Regions from separate parts of the Homo sapiens genome. Here all the other regions are linked to region 3. The links are contacts of gene promoters, found by promoter capture Hi-C in blood cells and fetal thymus (Javierre and others, 2016). All regions are on one chromosome and are shown on one strand. The core of a region is centred on a gene start or on the middle of the fragment in contact, and the rest is flanking DNA. Distances in the headings are between cores, read along the strand shown.

The links. The method cuts DNA at HindIII sites, captures the fragments that hold promoters and counts their contacts. A CHiCAGO score of 5 or more calls a contact.
Region 1: a fragment that was not itself captured here is called in contact with the fragment with the promoter of LHFPL1 in region 3 in 4 of 17 cell types (naive CD4 T cells, non-activated CD4 T cells, naive CD8 T cells and 1 more); the score reaches 8.5 in naive CD4 T cells.
Region 2: a contact is called between a fragment that was not itself captured here and the fragment with the promoter of LHFPL1 in region 3, in 2 of 17 cell types (total CD8 T cells and total CD4 T cells). The highest score is 6.8, in total CD8 T cells.

The regions. Positions count from the first base shown.
Region 1 is chrX:111,713,842-111,717,833 of GRCh38, reverse strand. All of the region lies in intron 8 of ALG13 (ALG13 UDP-N-acetylglucosaminyltransferase subunit), which reads right to left. Among named protein-coding and RNA genes, the nearest start is that of ALG13, 35 kb to the right of the region's middle. The HindIII fragment of the contact is 2,250 bases long and covers 1,210-3,459 here.
Region 2 is chrX:111,694,785-111,698,817 of GRCh38, reverse strand. The region is part of intron 3 of ALG13 (ALG13 UDP-N-acetylglucosaminyltransferase subunit); the gene reads right to left. Among named protein-coding and RNA genes, the nearest start is that of ALG13, 16 kb to the right of the region's middle. The HindIII fragment of the contact is 4,705 bases long and covers 341-4,033 here.
Region 3 is chrX:112,677,168-112,681,679 of GRCh38, reverse strand. LHFPL1 (LHFPL tetraspan subfamily member 1) reads left to right here and starts at 1,742. Exons shown (of 4, transcript NM_178175.4): 1 at 1,742-1,851. The HindIII fragment of the contact is 5,630 bases long and covers 1-4,024 here.

The DNA.
Region 1 (3,992 bases), core at 1,085-3,584, 960 kb after region 3:
ACACAGAACAATTAAGTGAATGTTACACATCTTAAAACCATGAAATTAAGATGATAATTAACTTGAAATTGAGTCAGTAGTCAGTAACTGATAACTAACTGAATTTTTTTAAAGTGATTTTTAAAATCTAAATATAAGGAAATGCAACCTGTACCTCATAGAGATTTTCTTGGCAGTGACTTTTAAATGCCAAGATTAAAATCACTACTAAGGTTACACTGTGAGCCTCAATCACATTAATATACCAAACAAGTCCTGATTTACAAATTTGCTAAAAAAAAAAAAAAAAAAAGGAACACTTAGAAATTGAGTTATTGAACATAACAGAAAGCCTAACAGATGCCAAAAGACCCAGCTAACTTCCAAGAATGACTGGAAAAATTAGGTCAAATACCCAAATACTCCAAACTCAGACTAAGGGAGGAAAGGGATTTTATTCAATTATTTCGAAAGTTATCCATTTAACTGAATAGCAATATATCAATACACTATATAGCACCAATACTGCTAGAGAGACTTCCTCAATGAATTAAGGCACATCTCAGGCTACAAAAATGACAGTTTAACGTCTGAGCTGATTCCCTGAATCCCTAGAGGTTTTTTTTTCCCAAAACAATTCAAAGGCCATGCTTGTTAAGCAAAATTTTTTCAGTCAAAATGTTGCATGTGATGAAATTTGTTTATATAACTGTTCCAAAACCTTTCTGAATTTTTGTTGAAAAAATCTGTCTTCACCAGGTGGGATGGTGTGTGCCTATAGTCTCAGCTACTACAGCAGGAGGGTCACTTGAGCCCAGGGGTTTGAAGCTATAGTGTGCTATGATCTCACCTGTGAATAGCCACCACACTCCAGCCTAGGCAACATAGTGAGATCCCCATCTCTTAAAAAAAAAACAAAAAAAAATGTCTTATATAAGGGATATAATCCCTAGTGATTAAGGTTCTTCCATTTTGAAGGTATCAGCAACCTGAGTTACTCAAAATGATTCTGCAATCTGTGGAAAGATGTTGCCACCAAGCCTCCTTGGCAGAAAAAAAAATTATCCTAAGCATTCTTTTTTTCTGTCTTCCTACTCTTCCCTGGGCTAACTTCTCCCAATAATCCAGTTATTTGATCCCAGGTCTATTATTCTTCACTTGTCTTTTTGGAAATCACAATTCTATTTCAGTAATAATCCATTTCAAAGTACTGAAGTCAAGTGTCAAGCTTAAGTAACTCACAGTAAAGTTTAAGTTATAAGTTTCTCCCACCACAAGGGGTATTTGCATTTAAGAGTTTATTAACCCATAAGAACAGTGAGCAGATTTTGAGCAGAGAAATCCTTTGTACTTTGGGCTACAAGAACTGGGAACTCTAAGAAATATTAATAACTTAGAGGCAGTTGTTAAGGAATAAAGGAATCCAGTTAACCAGAGTGATGAATAAGCAGTTCTTATAGAAAGAAGACAGACAACTATATAATTTCTCTATTCAAGTGGCAAGAATTTCCATTTTGACTGGAAGAGGCAAAACAAGGCATGATGGCTTTCCCAACATGAAAGTAATTCATACATACTTGTGGGTGGTTGGGAGTGGGCAGATGGGATGTAATTAATGGCAGTAAACTAGTGAAAAAATGGGGTAGATCTATATTACTAAGAAGGATATTTAAAAAGAACAAGTAACAATGTTAAATATGGGCCCATTTACATTTAAAAGACAAACACAAATAAAATGATACAGAAAGATACTCACCAATACTTAATAGTTTGTTACTTTGAAGTGCATGAGAACCAATACTTGTTACTTTGAAGGGCATAAAATTGAAGAGGATGAGTGGGGACTTTCTTACTCTACATTTCAAGACTTAATTTTATTTTCTTTTTAATGTAAGTATGTACTTCTATCTAGATAGAGCAAATGAGCTGAGTGAAGATGGCTCGATTTCAGCTGAATACACTTAAGAAACTGAAGATAACTATGTAGAATGCAGAATTAAGTCAACACACAAGATGAAAGATGCCAAAGTGAATATTAGACATTTATTTCTATGAAAGTTTGTTCTAAAATATTTTTAGAAGGCTCATTAATAATGTTCACTGCCTATAATACAATCATTTTTATTTATTTATTTCTGAGATGGAGTCTTGCTCTGTCGCCCAGGCTGGAGTGCAGCGGCGCAATCTTGGCTCACTGCAACCTCCGCCTCCTGGGCTCAAGTGATTCTTCTGCCTCAGCCTCCCAAGTAGCTGGGATTACAGGCATGCGCCACCACACCCAGCTAATTTGGGTATTTTTAATAGACACGGGGTTTCACCATATTGGCCGGGCTGGTCTCAAACTCCTGACCTCAAGTGATCCACCCACCTCGACCTCCCAAAGTGCTGGGATTACAGGCATTAGCCACCACACCCGGCCTCATTTTTAAAAATTCAATCCTGATGCCAATCTTAGGAGTGTGAACTGAGATAAAGCAACAAAGTTTTAGGCAAAGCAAAGCATCACAAAATAAAAGCACCTGGCTTTTCAATATAAACACACACTCCCACTTCATAAATTCCCAAATCAGACATATATATGCACTATCCTGTACATGAAAATACCCAAGTGCTGGTAAGTATTAGCTCTGTATACATGTATGGATATTTGTAGGTTGTACACACTCAAAAGGTCTGAAATTTTTGTATTCTCATGGTTCCCAATGGGTAACGTTCCCCCTAAATTAGCTAAATAATCTCTCTGTAAGATACACAAGACATTTATAAATGGAACTGTGTAATTGTAGGAACTAAGTGGTGGGTACATGAATGTTTACTGCATGAGTCTTCATACTTCTCTCTGTATGAAAAATTTCAGAATACAATGTTGAGGAAAAACTGAACTGGGAGTTTAAAGATCCCTGGTAAAGATCCAAATTTCATCTCAAGCAATGCTATGTACAACTGCTTAGATACAAAAGTTAACACTCCTCTTCCTCAAACAATTCAGATTATGTCACACCTTTGCCTAAAAACTTTCCATTAGCATTTAGGGTCAAGTTTTCTGGTGTCTGAAATTTACTTTAAAATATATCAAAAAAGAAAGATGGACAGATGAATGGATCGAGGAATAGATATGTGATAAGAATACTAAGATGTTAACAGCAGACTCTAGGTGGTGGGTAGGTATATGGATGCTCACTGTAAAATTCTTTTAACTTTTCTGTATGTTTGAACATCATAATAAAACGTTGGGAAAAAGTTTCAAATGACTATTCTGTACAATGAAAAGACAAATTATTTGGCATGGCCTGCTCTACCTCTTACTATGTAACTCTAGACTATCTTTCCAGCATCATCCTCCTCACATCCAACTACTTAACTCCCAAAGGGTCTCTTGCTTCTATGCCTCTGTATATAGTGTTTCCTCTGAATAGACTGCTCTTCATATTTGATGGACTCTTTTATACTCCACTTAAATGTCACTACCACCATGAAGCTTTCTAAACTCCCTCAAGCAGAAAGAAGGGCTTTTTCCCTTATGCTTTTAGCACAATTTTTTTTATTATAAAACTTACCACTTTGCTGTAATTAACCCTTTGCAGGTCTGTCTTCATTGTCCCTTAAGCTCTTGGAGGGCAAGGATTTCACTGTATTCATTTTGGTGTCCCCAAAGCTCAGAAAAGAGATAATTAACGTACCCCGTTCATACTTATCTTCTAAGTTATCTCCTATTCAGTCTTCTCTATTCCTAATGCTACTTCTCCTTAGTTCAGGTATTCACCCTCGATTATCGTAACAGCATCCTAACAGTTCTCCTGGTCTCCAGTCTTGTCATGCCATCATTAGAATTGTGTCTAAATTGTGTTCCATGTTGTGAAATAAGACATATAGAACTCAAACATTGTGTAGTCTATATTTCACTAATAAAATAATCAGGATAAAGGGCTTTTCTTTTATAAACTTTTTGGAGAAGCTGTATGCTGACAAACAATTTATCTGCTGAGTATTCTCAACTAACAATCAAGTACTTT
Region 2 (4,033 bases), core at 1,444-3,943, 980 kb after region 3:
CATTACAGAATTATTCACAGTACCCAAGATAAGGAAACAACCTAAGTGTCCATCAGTGGATGAATGGATAAAGAAAATGTGGTACATATACAAAATGGAATGCTATTCAGTGTTTAGAAAAACGAAATTCTGTCATTTGTGACAACATAGATGAACCTAGAGGACGTTATATGCTAAGTGAAATAAGCCAGGCACAGAAAGACAAAGAGGGCATGATTTACATGCGGAATCTAAATAAGTTGAACTCATAGAAGTAGAGAGTTAGAATGATGGTTACCAGAAGCTGGGGGGTGAGTGGGAAAAGAGAAAATGGGAGTTGTTGATCAAAGGGTACAAAGCTTCAGACAGACAGAGGACATAAGTTCTGGGATCTTTTGTACAGCAGAGTCGCTACAGTCAATAATAATATATTGTGTACTTCAAAATAAGAATTTCAAATTTCTCACCATAAAAAATGATAGGTAAGTGAGGTGAATATGTTAATTAGCTTGACATAATCATTCCACATTGTACACAAATAGCAAAACATTACATTGTACCCTATAAATGCATATACAATTGTGACGTGTAAATTAAAAACATTAATTTTTGAAAAGTCTCCTCTTCCATGTAGGAAGGTTACAATGATATTCAAATTTAAAAAACAAAACAAAACCAGTTTAAGCATATTATTTATAAAACATAAAGTAATACGGTCATCTATAAGAAGCAGGAACAGAGATGCGGAGGAATAGGACATACAACTGCTGTTTCTTGTTGTAAGCCTTGTATAATCAATTAACATTTTTAACTATTCACATGTATTACCTTAATTTTAGAAAGCAAATTTAAACATTTTATCATTAGTGAGCAAGAAACAATAGCATCATAAACTGGGAAAACAAGTAATTGGAATTTTACAGCTCCAAGGGATCTCTTACTTTACAGATGAAGAAACAGGTCTGAAATAGTTTTAAGACCTACCTAAGTTTTCACATCCAATCAGTAACAGTACTGAAACTAAAACTATATAAAATCTCCTGATGTTTGCACAATTACCATAAAGAGGAATTACATACCAAGGCAGAAAAAACATGAACAAAAGCCCAGAAGTGGTAAAGCAGAGGTTCCATTCTGCAGATTAGTACAATAGGATATTTTAAAGAGAACTGTGGGTCGATTCTAGACTTTGTCTTGCATATAATAAAAAGCCACTTCAAGGTATTTAATACTGTCCTTTGAAATATCGCACTTGAAATCCCAATTGGCTTTCTCCACAGCAAACTACTTTAGTCCTGAAAAACTTCCAGAACAGTGGTTCTCAAGTGGAGGGCTTGTTAAAAGATTGCCTCTTGCCCAAGGGATTCTGAGGCAGGTCTGGGATGAATCCCAAGAATTTGCATTTCTAACAAGTTCCCAGGTGATGATGATGCTGGTCCAGGGAATACACTTTGAAAACCACTGCTCTAGAACAACATATTCCTAAAAAGAGAATTTCAAGGCCAAAATTTCAGCAAACTTTGCATATTATAATCCTATCCTTGAGATTCACAGTGCCCATTAGCAACATTAAAGGTCCTAAGGAATGCTTATAGTAAATGCTTCACATTTTTGACCTAGCCTTTATCAAACACCTTCTTCCCTCCATAGATCACCTATTAATGTTTCAAAGTTTGAGAAACACTGCTCTAGAAATTTTTGTGACTTAAACCTAAGGTTGTTAGAATAATACAAAAGACACTGTATATTCAGTGTTTAGCACGTTCGTGCTTAAATATGGATGGCTGTTAGCTGCTACCTGACAAAACATTCAGCAAGCAATCATTCTTTGGTCCAAAAAAAAAAAAAAAAAAAAAGGTAAGAACCAGAGCAATTTCACTGAAATTCTACTGGAAATCAAAGTTCTAATATGGGTCCATATCCTGTTTCCCCATCCCTAATGGAATTATTCCCTTTGACATCTAAGTATAATGGAAAGAAAATGTCTTAAAAAAGACATTTTAAGTTTTAAGCACTGTATCTCTGGGTACAGATTAAAATAAGTTGAAAAAACATTAAAGTAACTTTAAATAACATAGTTTACTTGTCATGAAACTGATGGGCTTTAATTTTGCAATGACTACTTTTTATACTGAAATTTAGCTAGAATACGTAATTTGCCCTTTTAATTGCTATATTTATTTCTTCACTGATAAACAAGGAAACTGTAGTGTGACATATAAATACTAATGATTTTAATTCTAAAATAACACTTCACGTTTCAACCAATTAAATGAGGTATGTCCGGAATTATTTTTTTAAAGCATACATTACCTGTGACATACAAGGTATAGTTGTAAATGTGTATGACAAAATGCTATGAGTTATTAGTTTCTGAGAGGCAATATGGTATCATGAAAAGAATGTTATGAACTTGGCTGTACCACTTTAAGTCTCAGTTTCCTCATCTGTAAAATAAGTAGATGGGCTGCATAATCTCTAAGCACTCTTCCAAATGTAGGGAATTACTCTGTGATTCAACAGTGGATAACAGACTTTAGGTGGTAAAATTTGTAATCAATATTAAAATATTGATAACACCTTCCTTTAAGTGGTCAAATTTGTGATCAATATTAAAAATAGCTTTTGGGTGTTAGCCTATTATCTTGGCAAAAAGTGGGGATGACTGGCCCACATAAAAATGAATAAATCTGACATTACCACATAAACAGACCTAGATTTTTAAAGATAACAAACCCATGTATTAACATATAACAACTTGTAACAGAACCTACTGAAAAGCCAGTATTTTAAAAATTAGCCCTAAATAACTTACTTCAATTATTTTTAGTACCAAATAACATGAAGCAAATTAAGGGAAATAACTCTACAGAACCTCTTTTTAGGGTCTTTCATTACTGAAAATATAATGGTAATGTGTTTTAAAAATGTATTTTAACAGCACCCTGGAACTAGAGCCTATCAACTTTTCAGGGTGAACATTCAAGCAGAATTAGCAAAGCAAGATTTATGAAGGAAGGGAACACAATGGTTCTAAAACAAAGCATGGCCTGGCAGCCCTGTTCAACCTCCTCCTCAAGTTTTAGGAAGGAGAAATAAAGGCAAGACAAAGAATGGATTTCCCAAAGAAGTAATCCTTCTTCGGAATTGCAAAATAAAATATTATCAAGAACCACTTGCTTTCATTTTCTTCTCTTCCCCATTTCCACCTGATAGCATGACAATACAGATTTTTTTTTAAAGGAAAATATTACTTTGCTTTAAAATATACCACACTGGCACACAAACACTGAGGGTTTGTTTTTTTTTTTTTTTTAAACAGAGTTTCGCTCTTGTTGCCCAGACTGGAGTGCAATGGCGCAATCTTGGCTCACTGCAACCTCTGCCTCCCAGGTTCAAGCAATTATCCTGCCTCAGCCTCCTGAGCGACTGGGATTACAGGCATGTGCCACCAAGCCGGGCTAGTTTTGTATTTTTAGTAGAGACGGGGTTTCTCCATGCTGGTCAGGCTGGTCTCAAGCTCCCGACCTCAGCTGAACCACCTGCCTTGGCCTCCCAAAGTGCTGGGATTACAGGCATGAGCCCCCGCGCCCAGCAGAAGGTTGTTTTTTGACTTAAGATACCTGCAGTGTCTGATCAGTCTAGAGACAGGATTAGCAGAAGGAGGGAAAAAACCCAGAACATTTGAAGCACTGGAAAGACTCATTCAATTAAACTTCTAAATAAACTTAAATTATCTAACTATAACCCCAATTAGAAACTGAGTATGAGTTTAAACATGAAATTCAATGAAAAATCTGCTTTCCGTATCATTTAGGACTATATTCTGTGAATTCTAAAAATAGATCTTAGTCCTACTTCTCAAAACAAAAACTAACCAAGAGAAAATGTGTTATTTCAACAGCATTTTTAATTTTTAAAACATGCCACACAACTAGGTTTATGTCTTAGAAATCACCCGAGAAGTTAGTTTTATTAATTCACAAACAGGAAAACTGAGATCCAGAAAACTACTAATTTAGGCTAAGGACTTAGGAATGTTTTTCATTACTAA
Region 3 (4,512 bases), core at 493-2,992:
AAGCAATTTTTTTCTGAGAGAGCGTTCAACTGTTAAGAACAGGAAATAAAATTTTGTCCAATAAATTAGATTATTATTTATTATACACTTAAGTGTCTATAGAGAAAAGAGGATAAAAGAGGAAAGTAAAATGGTATTCTTCTTAGAGTTTCAAATAATGATAGGTTCCCCAAATGACAGGTGTAGTCACTAAGCAAAGGGCAATATTTACTGCTGTGCATAGAGTGGGGATCATCTATTTTTTATATGTCAACATTTTCAGCCGTATCTCACACAGTTACTACGTGTCAGTTAATATTAACCTATATTTAATGAAGGAGGGCCTAACATTTCTTTTTACATAATCCTATGTCTGAAGCAATGGTTCTTAAGGGAATGACAGCTGGGAGGTTATAAAACTTAGTTGGGGGGCTTACACTGCCAAAAGTCTAACATTCCACCTAAGGAGTCATCTGTGCTTCCCCCAGAAACATGATGGCCTCAGTAAGCCATGATTACAGATGGGAATGGATTTATCACTGTGTTGTAGAACAAAACGGTAAAAATTGCTGATGGAAAGTTGCTAGATAGACAAATACATGCATGAATATAGGATCATATCACTGATAAAAGGCAGGACACAGGTGGTATACACAGAAGGCAGGAGAAACTTTGTAAGTTCATTAAATAATCACGGTACAATTAATATGTTAATTTACGGTCATATTTTGAATTATTGCCACAACATGCTAGAAAATAGGCCTAATCACCTTTGTAGCATTCTGGTGAGGGAACTGGGCCATCAGAGAAGCATGGATACTTTGGATCAGTCCAGTGTGCTCTGTTAATGTAACCATTCTTCCTTCTAAATCATTTGGATTTGTTCAGCAAAGTTCCCCATTCACAGGCCATCTAGGAGGGGAAAAGAGACATGTACGAAAATAATAATAATAATAATGATACTAGGTAGAAGATAATAAGTTTCCCCAAATATGAAGTGTCAGGGACATTCACAGGTGGGAAATATGACATCGGGTTGGAGTAGAACATCAGGCAAAGCTCCATTCATCTCCAGACCACTCAGCTCTTTTCCCAAGCAGAGTAGCAGTTATTAGTGCACTGGGATAAATTAAACACTGACTTTTGATTGTATTATTACTATAAAAATATATTAGTTATTCCTTTCAATGTATGATTTCCACAAATTCTGAAATGTAAGCTCATTACATCTTGGAGCCAAAGATTGCTCTGCTGGAGCATCTTCCCCATCAGGCAATGGAAATCAGTTTGGGGAGAAGAGGTTGTTCTGTCTTATTCTATTTAGGCATGTGTTCTCTCAGTCACTTCTAGCCACATGGGTCTGCTACCTACCATGGTAGAGATTATCTAGGGCATTGGAGGAAAATTAGAGAAAATCTCTGTTCCTCAGCAGGCTTTTGGGCAGCAAGTGAGGAAGTAAGATAACGCAGTTCAAGCGCGGGCATGCCTGCGCGCATGCGCGCGCGCTCGCGCGGACACACATACACACACACGCGCGCGCGCGCGCGCGCGCGCACACACACACACACACACACAGAGCTGCTTTGTCCGCTGTGAGGTTGGAGGTTTGGGGACTCTGTGCCCACTAAGCTACTTTCTATTTCAAGTGCCTGTATGTCTGAGGCTGGGTTTGAAGCCTCCAGCGTGTTTGGAGTTAATCCCCATTAGGTTGGACTCCGCCCCTTTCTCCCAAAGGTAAAGCAAGGTTTTCAGGCATCACTGCAAAGGGCAGCTAGTATTCCCATCCTTGTCTAACAAGCTGTAAGGAGAAGTTGTTTCTGAGATCTGAGCCTGAAGAGAGGGAACAAGTCAGTCAGCCTTCGTGGTCAGAAGGTAAATATGCAACTTGGGCCAAATGCAATTCAAACAGCTGGATAAGAAACTGCTTTGCTCTCCCCTTGCTCAGCCCCCCCTTCTCCCCTTCCTTTCTCAGGTTTCCTGTCCTTTCATCTCAAAGCTCAGAGAAGCCGTTTTCTACCCGAGGGCAGCCTGGTGCTTTTTTATTTCTTCATAGTCCGTTGTTTGCACAGAGGCTAAGATGAATCAGGGCTGGATTCCTATTTCATATTGACAAGATTTGAGGACCTAAGGGTTAAGTGCTAGTTGGTTTCCCCAGGGGAGTTGGTAACCTGAGGAGATGAAGTGCCTGTTTCTGGGAGTGGAGAGAGTGATTTTGTTATGACCTGTCTATACAAGTAAAAATGGATCCGGTTTGCTAATGTGGTAGGTTGATCTCCTGGATTTGCCTAAATCTAAGGGGTTATGCGACGGAAATGGGGTAATGAAGTTAAACTGAAATGCAAATATTGAGGCCTCTCAGGCTGGAAATAAAAGAATGCATCCATTTGGTAAATATTTATGAGTTCCTACTATGTGCCAAGGCATGACAATTTCCAGAAGAACCTGAAATACTTAAACTATAAATCCATTCTTGCAAAGAACACTTGGCCAAGTGGTTTCATTTTGTGGTGGGGAACTGAAAATAGAATGAAGCCTAGGGGTGAGGAAAAATCACCCATGGAGTGGTTGTGGGGAGAGAAAGGGGAAAGGAGAGATGTTCTAAATCTTAGGTGGTTTCAAGTCTTTTCCATTACTTATGAGAGAATAGGGTCTTTTCTGGTAGAAAGGGAGAGAATTGATACCTACTCTGGTGTTAGGTATAGTGCAGATGTTTCACTTGAATTTTATGCTTAATCATTTCCATTTTATAAATGAAACCAAAACTCAGAGGTTTTAAGTGATCTTTTTATGTGCATATAGCCTGTAAGGGGCAGACCTCAGGACTCTGTCTCTGATCTGATTCCAAAATTGTGACTTTTCCACTAAAACAGTATTCCTCAATCATTAGTTCCCATTAGAATAAATTGAGGATTTTTAACAATATGAATTCCCATAAATTCGAATTCAGTGAATCAAGGAGGGGGTGACATAGTCTGCATTTTGAACAAGCATTGAAAGTGATTCTGAACAAGCATTGAAAGTGATTCTGTTGAGACAAACATTCTTGATATACCATGCTGCCTCTCAACTTCTCTGAAGTGATTGGAAAAGCAATCAGCCCATCTTCTTCCCATATGGGCCAGATTCACTCAATAGAAGTGGTCAGCTGTGGTGACATTTTATTCCCAGCTTATACAATGGAGTGGAGAGACTAATGGGCAACAATAACAGGGCTGGGGTTTAGGGCTTAACAATGTCTTGCCAGGGATCTTGATAGGGGTAGTTTCTAACCAGCTGAGAGTGTGAGATAGAACTCGTAGCCAACCAGCTTATCACTGAAGATGATGGCACCTGTCTAGCCAGAATAAGAACTGAGATGAAGATCTCTCATTGGTACCTCACTTTTAAAATCATAGGATAGATGGGGAGCTCAAGGAGCAGCATCTTGGGGAGAGGGAAGGAGAGAGAAGCTCATATGAAATTTGGGGAGGTTATTCCAGTTCCTACCTTTCCAGTCTCAAACTCTGGAGAAAGGAAATAGCCCAGGGCCTGATGTGGAGGTTCTTTTTATGAGCTCTCTTTGTCTCTGCATGGTCAAATATATTTATTTAGAGTTGATCATTTCAAAGTTATCAATTGCTCAGTTAGTCCTTTCTCTCCACTTAGTCTCTGGCTTCCTGCCTTTTAATGCCTTACCTGCTTGTGAGCATTCCCACCTCTGGATGGAGAGATGCAAATAAACACATAAACTCACCCAACACAGTTTTGCTGGTCTTTCTACCCCAAACTAAAAAAGGAGGGAAGGAAGAAGAAGGCCCAGAAAGAAGTTCAGCAAACATGAAATCTGAGGAATTTGAAATAAAAGACACAAGTCAAAAGAGAGATCTTCTTAGAGTCACCAAGATGAGTGAGTACATCATGAGATGATTTCAGGCACAGGAGAACTCAGAGCACTTCTCATAATGGAGATAGCCAGAGGAGAAGAAACCCCTGAGGGAGACAGGTAGCAGAACATGAGGAGAGAAATGTTTGGGGAGTAGCAGTATTTTTTTTTTTTTTTGAAGCTTTGTCTGAAACAGAAAGATCTAGCATGGTCAGGCTGCTTATATACCCAACTTGATATAAGGAGTCACATCGGTCCAACACGTTTCTCTGGAGCAGGACTCTATTTACCCACTGGAAACATATGCCTGCATATCTCATTCATTTCCTAGGGAAGTCTCAACTCTGAGTAAGATGTATTTGTAACAGGATTGGCAGGAAGACAATGCACACTGTCTGGGGGCGTGAGGAGAAAGGCCTGTTCACGTTCCTTTGCCAACACCAGTGCCAAGAAAGCTGCTCTTCACAGACCAGTCCTAAACCAGCAGTCTTGCAGGCATGTTTCCCTCAGCAGCTGTTAAGTCACTGACTCCCTTTCTTACCACTTCATGTTCTAGTCTTTAATTTGCTTACTGTTTTGCCTGTACCCTCTTACCCTGGGAAAGGCAGTGCTTTCCTTAACTCAGAAGTTGCACAACAAGCTCAAGTGGAAACAAAAGGATTTGTGTCTTT